Linked DNA regions of Homo sapiens: regions 1 and 2 are each linked to region 3. The links are contacts of gene promoters, found by promoter capture Hi-C in blood cells and fetal thymus (Javierre and others, 2016). All regions are on one chromosome and are shown on one strand. The core of a region is centred on a gene start or on the middle of the fragment in contact, and the rest is flanking DNA. Distances in the headings are between cores, read along the strand shown.

What was found. The method cuts DNA at HindIII sites, captures the fragments that hold promoters and counts their contacts. A CHiCAGO score of 5 or more calls a contact.
Region 1: a fragment that was not itself captured here is called in contact with the fragment with the promoter of C1QA in region 3 in 1 of 17 cell types (endothelial precursors); the score reaches 5.2 in endothelial precursors.
Region 2: a fragment that was not itself captured here is called in contact with the fragment with the promoter of C1QA in region 3 in 1 of 17 cell types (erythroblasts); the score reaches 6.8 in erythroblasts.

Annotation. Positions count from the first base shown.
Region 1 is chr1:22,939,963-22,944,053 of GRCh38, forward strand. No RefSeq gene overlaps it. Among named protein-coding and RNA genes, the nearest start is that of LACTBL1, 31 kb to the right of the region's middle. The HindIII fragment of the contact is 1,964 bases long and covers 1,392-3,355 here.
Region 2 is chr1:22,152,548-22,156,246 of GRCh38, forward strand. It overlaps LOC105376845 (a long non-coding RNA gene), which reads left to right. Exons shown (of 5, transcript XR_947050.1): 2 at 2,356-2,779; 3 at 3,250-3,356. Among named protein-coding and RNA genes, the nearest start is that of WNT4, 11 kb to the left of the region's middle. The HindIII fragment of the contact is 5,397 bases long and covers 1-3,699 here.
Region 3 is chr1:22,634,040-22,637,877 of GRCh38, forward strand. C1QA (complement C1q A chain) reads left to right here and starts at 2,589. Exons shown (of 3, transcript NM_015991.4): 1 at 2,589-2,663; 2 at 3,571-3,740. The coding sequence starts at 3,578. The HindIII fragment of the contact is 10,061 bases long and covers 2,252-3,838 here.

The DNA.
Region 1 (4,091 bases), core at 1,124-3,623, 310 kb after region 3:
TAGAGATAACATGAAAATCTCTGAACCCTTTGAAACAAAGCTATACACTTATAAATAATTCATGTGGTCAAAGAATAGATCTCAAAAGAAATTTAACAATATATTTACTTTAATGAGAATAAGAATACTCCATATTAACACATGTGGGGCATAGCTAAAGCAGTGGTAAGAGGGAAATTGATAGCAATAAATGCTTACATCAGAAAAGAGGAAGCAGTCCTCCCACCTTAGACTTCCTAATAGCTGGGACCACAGGTGTGCATCACCACACCCAGCTAAATTTTTTTTTAATTTTCTAGACACAGGGTCTCACTATGTGGCCTAGGCTGGTCTCAAACTCCTGGGCCTTGGCCTGTCAAAGTGCTGGGATTACAGACATATGCCATTGTGTCTGGCCTAATTCTTGATATATTATCCTGCTCCACACTCATAAATGCAAAGGCTCAGTGCAGTTTACATCAGTGCTGTTCATGACTCAATTTCGGTTGGGTACCTCATAACTGTTCCAGCTTTCTCTTGTCGTGTAATAAAGAACTTCAATATTTACTGGCCTAAAACAAACAGTAATTGCATTATCAAATCAATAATCTAAGTTCCCATGTCAAGAATCCAGAAAAAAAAATCTAGGAAAAAAGGAACACAATAAACTCAAAGCAAGCAGAAGATTGAAATAATAAAATAACAGCATAACATTAAAAACAGAAAAGCAAGAAAGAAAACCAATGAAACAAAAAACTGGTTTGCTTCACTGTTTCAAAATTGACAAACTTCTAGAAAGACTAACAGGAAAAAAGAGAGAAGATATAAATTATCAATATGAAGAATGAAACGGGATGTCACTTTAGGCCCTGCAGATATCAAAAAAATAATAAGAGAACACTATGTATAACTCTACAGACATAAATTCAACAATTTTGATGAAATAGACCAATTCTGGGAAAAGCCAAAACTACCACAACTTGCTCATATTGAATAGCCCCATAACCATTTAGGAAATTGAATTAACAATGTTTTTTAATTACCAAAAAAGAAAATCTCCAGAGCCAGGTAGTTTCACTGGAGAATACTACCAAGTGTTTAGAGAAGAATTAATACCATCTACACAATCTCTTCCAGAAAATAGAAGAGGCAGAAACACTTCCCAATTCATTTTATGAAGCTAATATTATCCTGATACCAAAACCAAACAAAGATAATATACAAAAAAAGAAAGAAAACTACAGACCAATATTCCTCATGAGTATAGATGCAAAAATTCTTAACAAAATATTAGCAAATAGAAGTCAGCAACATATCAAAACAATTATATACCATTGAACAGACCCAATTTTCTCAGAACTGATGTTTACAAGTGTTTTTAATAAGATAGAAATTGACCCTTCCAGTCTTGAAGCTTGAGAAACTTACATTTTTCTTATCTGAGTTCCTTTCACAGGAAATTGGCTATCAGGGAGCTGAAACTTTCCACATCACTGCATCTGGACGGTGAGGTGCCAGACCCCTTATCTGACTCCCTGATGCCTGTTGACCAACTCCTATATAAACCCCTAACTTTAGTTGGTTGGGGAGAGAGATTTGAGACTTGTCTCTCATCTCCTGGCTGACATCACCCACAATAAAGCCTTTCTTCCTTGGCAATACTCGTTGTCTCAGTGATTGGCTTTCTGTGGGTGAGAACTGGACCTAGGTCAAACCCCTGGCATTCAGCAACAAAATTCTGGTGTCCTGACTTGGATTGCATTGCTTGTGACTTGGCAGCCACAGGCTGGGAGAGTTTTGAAAACCCTTCTAGCAGATGCCCAGCCATATTTGGCCAGAGGTTTCAGTCTCTCTCTCTTTGGCCCCAACTGCAGTCCTGATTGCCTAGGAAGAATATTCTTTGAAATTTGACATCTGCATCTGGACAGGTGAGTGTCCTTTGTGGGTACTAGACAGTAGGAGCTGCTCCTGTCAAATTGGGAAATTCTGAAGAATTTCCATTTGTTGCAGGTTAAACAAGCCCAACCCACTAATGTGAGAGTGGAAAGCACTCTATTTCAGTTCAGACACTTTGGGGGCTTGTTAATCACTACTGCAGTTAGATTGATTTTTGTTCTGTTTTGGTTTGAGACTGAGTTTCAGTCTGTCACCCAGGCTTGAGTGCAGTGGCGTGATCTTGGCTCACTGCAACCTCCACCTCCTGGGTTCAAGTGATTCTCCTGCCTCAGCCTCTCAAGTAGTTTGGACCACAGGCATGCACCACCATACCCAGCTAATTTTTGTATTTTTAATAGAGACAGGGTTTCGCCATGTTGGCCAGACTGGTCTCGAACTCCTGACCTCAAGTAATCCACCTGCCTTGGCCTCCCAAAGTGCTGAGATTATAGGCATGAGCCACCACACCCGGCCTAGATTGTATTTTGATAAGTGTTTGTGTGTGTGTGTGTGTGTGTGTGTGTGTGCGCGCACGTGCGCATGTGTGTACGTGTGTGTCTATTTCCTGCACCTTCTTTAAACTTTTGGTTTGAGGGACTCCCTTCCTGAGCCCCACCAGAAAACAGTCCAGAACCCCTGTTGATCAGCTTCCAGCTGGGGTCATGGAGGGGCACTGCCAGACTGTAACCAGTCCTCACCCCATTATTAGGATCTTCTGTGTGTAACCGATCAGCCTTTTCCTGAGCCTTTTCTAGCACTGTATGACACTCTTCAGATGTCAGCAAGACTTTAAGGAGGCTCTGAACATCAGCCCATGTAGGGCCATGAGTCATGAAAATAGACTCAAAGAGGTTAGTTATACATTTCAGGTCATCCCTATAAGCAGGTTTGGTCTGCTTACAATTATGTAAGTTTGCATCATTCCAGCGGGCTGTCCTTCTTCAGCTAAACCCCCAACAGGGACCTGTCTCAGAGGGAACTGCCCTGTAGAGAAGGGTAGCAGAACCCAGCCAAATTGTGTCCCCTGATGGGTCCAAGAGGATGAGACCATTTCTCTGGAGTTCCCAGATGTCTCCTTGGTGAAAGGAGAGAGCAAAGGAAAATATGGGGGAAGACCTGGCAGAACTCAGGTACGGGTCCTGGGTCCATAAGTGAGAGGGCTAGCAGGAGTCAGGAAAGGGTTTTGCAGGGTTTGGAAGTCTCAGGGGTTGGGGCCATCAAAGAGGCTGAAGCTGACCCCAAGGCAGCTGGTGGAGAGTGCTGAGATGGCTGGGCTGGGGTTATAGAAGTTGTAGTAGGCTCTAAGGAGAATTCTTCTTTGCTGGTGACATGGGGATCATAGGGAAAAGTGCAGACTCACCACCCTTCTTAAAAGCCTCCATCCATTGCATCAGAATTTTACATTTAACTTGATTGGTTTGTTCTGATAAAGGAGTATAAAAGCTTAGACATCAGGGATTTCATCCTACTTTCCCATTTGATAGCAAAATGAAACTAGTTGTAAGATATAATTTATCAATTTTGAATAATTTACTCAAGCAGGCTGCATTCTGGGGTTGAATTTTGTTTTATTATTATTTTTTGGGGGGAGGTCAAATTTTGATTTCCCATGACTATATCTAGACAAGAAGTGGATGAGAACCCATTAGCATTTTGGAAAGAATTTTGGAGGCTTATCAGAAATATACAGATGTAGGCCGGGCACAGAGGCTCACACCTGTAATCCCAGCACTTAGGGAGGTCAAGGCAGGTGGATTGCTTGAGGTCAGGAGTTCGAGACAAACCTGGCCAGCATGGTGAAACCCCGTCTCTACTAAAAATACAAAAAATTAGCTGGGCATGGTGGTGCACGCCTGCAGTCCTAGCTACTCAGGAGGCTGTGGCAGGAGAATCTCTTGAACCCAGAAGGCAGAGGTTGCAGTGAGCCGAGATCGCACCACTGCACTCCAGCCTGGGTGACAGAACGAGACTCTGTCTCAAAAAAAAAAAAAAAGAAAAAGAAAAAGAAAAGAAAGAAAGAAAAGAAAACAAATATACAGATGTAGATCCGACAGTCCTAAGAATTCCATGTTAATTAATGTGAACTATTTTGTAATACGCAGATGATATCTTGATAGCCAGTGAAATGGAGGGTAACTCCATCCTCCATGCCATCAAAGTCTTAAATTTCCTGGCAG
Region 2 (3,699 bases), core at 622-3,121, 480 kb before region 3:
CCATGTTGGCCAGGCTGGTCTCGAACGCCTGAGCTCAAGTGATCCCCCTGCCTCGGCCTCCCAAAGTGCGGGGATTATAGGTGTAAGCCACTGTGCCTGGTCTCAACTTGCTCTTTAGTGGACTAATTTGCTGCAGGTCTCAACTTCCATAACAGGTCTGAGAAGGCTTCTGTGGGCTTCTGATTACATATTCTGTCTTAGTCCTGAGCTTTGAAACACTGTCAACGTAATACAAATGGTTATTCAATAGTTATTGGCGCAATCATCTGTTGAATGCGTCTTTTCCCGCAGCTTGGGGCCTCCAGGAGGGCAGGGACTGTGGCTGTTTTGCCCACTGCTGTGCCCCTGGTGCTGTGATGTGCCTGGGATGTGGTGAGAGCTCAGTGCATGAGTGCTGAATGAATAATTGAAGCGGGATTCTCTAAGCTATAGTTTCTTTATCCAAAAATGGGCCTACGAGTATCTTTCTTTTAAATGGGAATAGACATAACATTCATTCCTTTCCTATCCTCAACCTTTGCAAAAAAACTTAGAAGAAATAAATGGGCTTGTGAATTAGTAGCCTGAAAAAGCTGCAACTCAAGGGATTGAACATGAAGTTGGAATGGTAATTCTGGAATGGTTGAGGCGTCCCTAGCTTCTGCAACTGGTGGTTGGGCTGAATGATCCTCTCTGGTCCTGGGGTGAAGGAGTCCTTTCTCCTGGGGATGAGAGAGCTGGTTTGCTTATGTGTGCAGGGCCAGGGCTGGGCTGAGAAATTCATGGAGAACTGGGGTGGGGGCTGCATTCCACCCTAGGTGTGACTTAGAACTCTCTCTTGGGCTGGTGGAAGGTAGGATGGCCCAGGACAGACCTGCTCCCCTACGCTGGACAGGGAATTTCCTGGAAGAGGTGACCTAGAGTTTAGGCCTGAGGGATTGGGAAGGTGAGCTTGGCAGGTGGTGAGGGGAAACTGTTCTAGTGTTCTAGGCTAAGGAAAGAGCATGTCCAAAGGCCTGGAGGTGAGATGGCAGGGTGGGACTGAGGAAGGAAAAGTTCAGAGTGGTGGCTGGGCAGGTGAGGAGAGGCTGGGCCACGTGCAAAGCTGGAAGAGGCCAGCTTGGGCCAGGGAACGAGGGAAGAGAAGCCTTGGAGGAGGCTGACGCTTGTGGGGCTCTGCGTATATGTGTGTGTGTGCATACATGTGTGTGTGAATGTGTGTTGGGGAGGTGGATGGGGCACAGGGGGCAGTATCTTCAGCCTCCTACCAGCAACTATGCACACAGAAGCCCAGCCGGTATCCCCACAGAGGCAGACGCCCCGGCACTGCCTTGTCGGAAACCCGCCGGGGCAGGAGCAGCTGCTTCTAAATCAAGGCCAAAGGCAGCCAAGGGGCCGGGTTGGGTTTGGTGGTTCTGCTGTATGGGCTGATGTGGGGGCAGGGGCTGAAGGGGGCTCTTGGGCAGGGATTCTGGGCCAGAATGAGCCTGGCTGGTTTGGGGAAGTTTATTTTGGAAGCTGGGATGATGCAAAATTAAGTGGGGAGGAAAAAATAGATGAGGCGACCGAGAGGGTCTGTCTGTGGCTGGCGGGGCTGTAAGTGGCCAGCGAGAAGTGCGTTGTTGGGTAAACAGATGGGGGTGGCAGCTTTCTGCACGCTCGCTATAAATATCCCGCAGTTTGCCGCCCCTGCTGGGGTTTCCTGGCACCGTGGGTGTGGAGATCAAGGTACAGACACAGGGCACTTCCGGAGTGGCAGAGGGTGGCCAGGGCCCTGCTCAGATCCCAGCCTCCTGGGGGTGGAGTGGGCACCGGGAACTGAGGCTGAGGCCCGAGTGGGGGCGGGAGATGCTTCTTTGCTATTAACTGGCTGTGGTTCTTGGGCAAGCCCTGTGACTTCCGTGGGCCTCAATTTCTTCACCTGTAAGATGGGCATGATAAAATGAGGCAGGGCATGTGTCGCTGCTGGCACAGGGACAGGCACCCTGGAGACACTCAGGAAATGATCAAGTGCTTAGGCGCTGTGTGACCTGGGCGAGTTCTCTCGTTGCCCTGAGTCTCAATTTCTTCATTTCTTCTTCCAAAATATGGGGAGAAGAACCACTGTCTGGAGGCTGAAATGGAACCATGGGTCTGGCACTGGACTTGCAATGTGTGTGGTATTTCAGGACAAAGTTGGGGCCCGGCTGGAGCCCTCCCCCAGCCCTCTGCAGCTGCTATGGGATTTGTCTCATCTCTGCAGTATGGTAGTGATGATAATGGTGATAATAGCAGCCAGGCCCACTGCGAGCCTTTTGGTGACCCAAGGGCTTTGTAAACTGTTATCTGAGTTCTTCGTTATCTCAGCTGATTTTCCCACCTCCTCACCTCTTACAGATAAAGAATCCGAGGCGCAGAGAGGTGGCACTGCTGGAAGGAACAGAGCCAGATCCACAAGATCCTTCATTCCGACAATAAATATTCACTGAAGATCTGCCACATGTCAGGCCCCAGCCCAGGTGCTGGGGATTTAGCAGAAAACCAGCCAGACCCATTTCCTGCATCCATGGAGTGCACAGGCTGGTGGGGGAGATGGGCTAGAAATCCATGAACCAAATTATACTGAGACGAGCGAGCACCGAGCGCCTAGCGTGGACTGCGACCGCTCGGGCTCCTGTATCTGTGACAGATGTGCTTGGGCTCCTCGTAGGACCGAGGGACTTTGTTATCCACACCACTGGCCTTGAAGTTGGCTGCTACCTGATGAGATGAATTAAGAACATACCAGCACTTTGGGAGGCTGAAGTGGGTGGATCACGAGGTCAGGAGATCAAGACCATCCTGGCCAACATGGTGAAACCCTGTCTCTACTAAAAATACAAAAATTAGCCGGGCGTGGTGGTAGGCACCTGTAATCCCAGCTACTCAGGAGGCTGAGGCAGGGGAATCGCTTGAACCCGGGAGGCGGAGGTTGTAGTGAGCCGAGATCACGCCACTGCACTCCAGCCTGGGCGACAGAGAGAGACTCTGTCTCAAAAAAAAAAAAAGAAAAAAAAAAAGAACATATATTAATATATTCAGTTCATCAAAACAGTCCCTGAATACACCTCTGTGCAGAACTTGTGCGAGCCTCTGGGGACCCAGGGCTGGTCAGGCTGGCTGGGCAGAAGGGGATGAAAACATTGCCTTATACACACTTGTAGAATATGTCGCAATGGGAGAAATCTTCCCATAGCTTCTCATGAGTCCAGTGAATTAGGCAGGGCAGGTATCATTGTCCCTATTTTACAGATCAGGAAATTGAGGTCCAGTGAGGTGTCTTGGCCAGGACACTCAGTCAGGACGTGACATGAACACAGGACTGTCTGACTTCAAATCCAGTGCTCCTTCCCCTGCAGGTGAGAAGGGGCCCCTGTAGCAGTGGGAGAGGGCCCAAGGCCCCAGCTGCCCCTGAGGACCCCTTCAAGCTCAGCAGTGAGACTTTGGCCAGGGGAAGGGCAGGCATTTTATCCCGTCTCTTGCATTCCGTTCAGAAGGTCCCTGTCTGCAGCTGGAGGGTGGAAGGGACTCTGGACAGGGTCACTAGAGACCCTGCTCTGCCCTTTACCAACAATGCTGTGGGAATCCGGCGCATGCTCTCTGAGCCTGCGTTCTTCTCTGTAAACGAAAGGGTTGGACTTGATGATCTCTAGAGAGCATTTTAGGCCCTGGGGGCAGAGCTGGGAGCAAGGATCCATCTGA
Region 3 (3,838 bases), core at 1,339-3,838:
GAAACCTCTGTGGCTGGTGGCACCTTTGCCCAAGTTTTGCTCAGGCCCACTGGGCTTGTTTCACTCACTCCTCCTGGCAGGCAGCACTCAGCTCACATTACCAGCCTGGGTTCCACATCTGCCCAGGGCAAGTCAGGCATGGAACAGTGAAGGGTGTGTGAGTGAACATGGGGTCTGGCCACTGCACACAGTCAGACATGCCGGCTGCTGCAGCGGGGTGAGCAGCTCCAGGTGCCAGCATGGGCGCCAGCTCTCTGAGAGGTTGTGGCTAGACCAAGTACACCACAAGCAGCTTCCACAGCTGGCACCGGGGAACACGGTGGCACCCAGAAGCTTCGAGATGCCAGGAACCACAGGGCCCCGAAAAGGGAGTCACAGCTCCAGCTTGGGGAGCTCCCAGGTCTGGGTTCCCCAGAGGGCCGCAGCTCTTCTTTCCTTCCCTTCACCTGCATCATGGCAAGCAAGGGGCATGTTTCAGCCTTGTTTGTGTTACAGCTCTTTCAGCCCCACCATTTGATGGGTCCCAAGTTCTTATCCTGCAACCAGGAAGAATGAGGTATGCAGACAAGTGGGGAGTGAGCAAGACGAAGAGGAGCTTTACTGAGCGATAGAACAGCTCAGCCTCCTGCAGAGCCTCCCTCAGGGGGCAGCTCCTTTCCACAGCCAGGGTGTCCTGATGAGTGTTCAGCTGCTAGCAGAGAGGAGACCCTGGAATGGGAAGCTCCTCTCTGCAGGCAGGTCATCCTGTCGACTTTCCAGCTCTCAGAAGAGGGAAGACCCTGGAATGGGAAGCTCCTTTCTGCAGGCAAGTTGTTCTGCCATCTCTGCAGCTCTCAGCAGAGAGGAGGCCCTGGAGCGGGTAGCTCCTCTCGGCAGCTGGTCATCCAATGTCTGCCCAGCTCTGGCTGAGCCTGAAGCTTTCATGAGCCTCAGAGAGGAGGAAGTGCATACTGATTGGTCCATGGGTGGCTATAGGCAAGCCCAGAAAATACACCATAAGTTCCCACTCTGGTGTGTGGGACTGGCAGCCTGGCCCCCAGCCTTGAGGCCCTCCCTGGCTTGAAGGTAGGGCCTCACCAGGGACCCATCCCCTTCCACCCAGGAGCCTGTCTGTCTCCTGCTGCTGTTCATGGTGCCCAGGCTGTTCATGCCAAGGAGCGTCTGCAGGCCAGTGCCGAGCTGCCCTCAGTTTCCCCTTGGCTTTCCTTCCATGCTAGTCAGTGCCCAAAGTCCAGAGGGGGCCAAGGCAGCAGGGGTCTAGTGTGTCAGCACTGCCCCAAGCATGCCCACACCCAGCCAGGCTGCGACAGCACCCAGGCTCAGCACCAACTTTGCTCTAAGATCAGAGTGGGCGCCAAGAGGAGGGAGAAGCCAGGCAGTGGGAGCAGACACTTCTGAGCCTGAAGGGTGGGGCGGGGGGCCTTCCCGGGCCCCCAAGATTGCAGGGATGCCTGGGTCCACAGCTGCAGTTTAGGCAGCTGCAGCTGCATGGGGGATGGCGGGGGCCCCCACCTGCTCCATGAAGCAGGATCAGCTGTGGTTTGGCAGCTGCAGTGGTTCCCAGGAGGGCGGGGTTCCCACTGTCCCCAGCTCCCACTGGCTACATGGAGCATGCAGCCCTGGCCGTGCCTCCCTGCTGCAGCCAGTGTGATGACAGCAGCCATTCCAGACGGCCCGCCATTGCCATCTCTTTTTTTTTTTTTTTTTTTTGAGATGGGGTCTTGTTCTGTCTCCCAGGCAGGAGTGCAGTGGTAAGATCAAAGCTCACTGCAGCCTCAACCTCCTGGGCTCTAGCAATCCTCCCAGCTCAGCCTCCCAAATAGCTGGGACTACACAGGTGCATGCTACCACACCTGGCTATTTTTTAAATTTTTAGTAGAGATGGAGTTTCACCATGTTGGCCAGGCTGGTCTCGAACTCCTGACCTCAAGTGATCCGCCTGCCTTGACCTCCCAAAATGCTGGGATTACAGGCGTGAGCCAAAGCACCTAGACTTGCTGTTTTTTTAAATGTTGGCAAAAGCTAGTGACTAAGTGTTCACCATGTGCCAAGTGTTTTGTATGTGCAAGTCATTAAAATGTTATAATAATCAGATGATATAGGACCCCGTTCCCAGTGTACAGATAAAACTGAGGGCTCAGGAGGTCAAGTAATTTCCCAAAGACATGCAACTAGGAAGCAGCAAGTCTAGAAACAGATTGCTGTGCTTCCTTCTCACCAATGCACTGTTCTTTCTTCTTTGTATTTTCCAAGCTTTTGGCAATGAATTGCATGTCACTTTCATAATCATGAAAAGTCCTACAAGGGACAGATTTTTTTAAAGATTCCTTCCGCTCTGGTGTTCTGTGCTTCGCTGGTTCTCAGAACCTCACCCTGCACGGCCTCCACCCCACATCCTCACAGGCACTGGCCTCACTGCCCCCACTCCCACACCAGCTGTTGCTGGGGCAGGACGCCCAATGTCCCAGTCTTGCTGAAGTCTGCTTGAAATGTCCCTGGTGAGCTTCTGGCCACTGGGGAAGTTCAGGGGGCAGGTCTGAAGAAGGGGAAGTAGGAAGGGATGTGAAACTTGGCCACAGCCTGGAGCCACTCCTGCTGGGCAGCCCACAGGGTCCCTGGGCGGAGGGCAGGAGCATCCAGTTGGAGTTGACAACAGGAGGCAGGTGAGGCCAGAGTCCCAGAGGGAGGGGGCTGCAGAGTTCTGGGACCCAGGGGAGCTGGCCCAGGAGGCTGGGCAGCTGAGGCAGGGAGGGAGGGAAATAACTGTGCCTGATTCTAGGACAGGGATGGGGGTGCAGCACTGATCCAGGACCCAGAATGGGTGAGTGGAGGGACCTTAACTCCTTGAGCCAGGGCTTGGGGGAGGGTGAGAGGCGATGAGTTAGACCTAACAACTGAAGGGTAAGACCAGGGTTCCTGGGTCCTGGCCCCATAACACATAAGAAACCAGGAAAAGCCTGGGGTGCTAGAGCTGGCAGTGGGACCCAGCAGAGGGGACTGTAGGGGCAGCCAGTCACCCATGCTCAGGTGGATGCTGAAAGGCGCTGAGCATGCAGAAGAGTGAGCAGGTGTCGCTTTGGGCGTTTGTGAATTCCTGTGTGTATGCAGAGCTCCACCATCTGGGTGAGCCAGTGTTAATTAAATAAGGAGCAGGCGCTCAATACATATTTGTTCAATGAAATCGATTACCTGTGGGAGTGTATGAATGTGTGTGTCCGTGCAAGTGAGGGACAGGGTCTATTTGGGTATCAGTTGTGTGTCTAGGGGGGTATAGTGGATTTCTGAGTTTGCCTACTGTGTTTTGTAGGTGCGTGGATGAGAGCTGTGTTTGTGTGAGTGTGTGAAGATGTGGGTGTGCTCTGTTGCATGTGTGGATGTGTGTGAGTTTGTGGTTCTGTGTATATGCGTGGGGTCCTGGGGCTGGATTGAGAGTGGACATTGAGAGCCCCAGAGGGTGCATGTGCACTTGGGGAGGACTGTGCATATATCATTGTGTGCATGGGACTCAAGGGTGGGAGCTGGGTGTGAGTGTGATGTCCAACCTGCCCAGGCCCTCCCGTGTCTCCACAGAGGCATCATGGAGGGTCCCCGGGGATGGCTGGTGCTCTGTGTGCTGGCCATATCGCTGGCCTCTATGGTGACCGAGGACTTGTGCCGAGCACCAGACGGGAAGAAAGGGGAGGCAGGAAGACCTGGCAGACGGGGGCGGCCAGGCCTCAAGGGGGAGCAAGGGGAGCCGGGTAAGCACCCTTCCTCGGGACCCAGCCCCTTGGACCTTGGCCTGACTTGGCCTCCAGGGTGAAGGCTTGGGGTGGCACTGAGAATCAGGAGTCCGTCT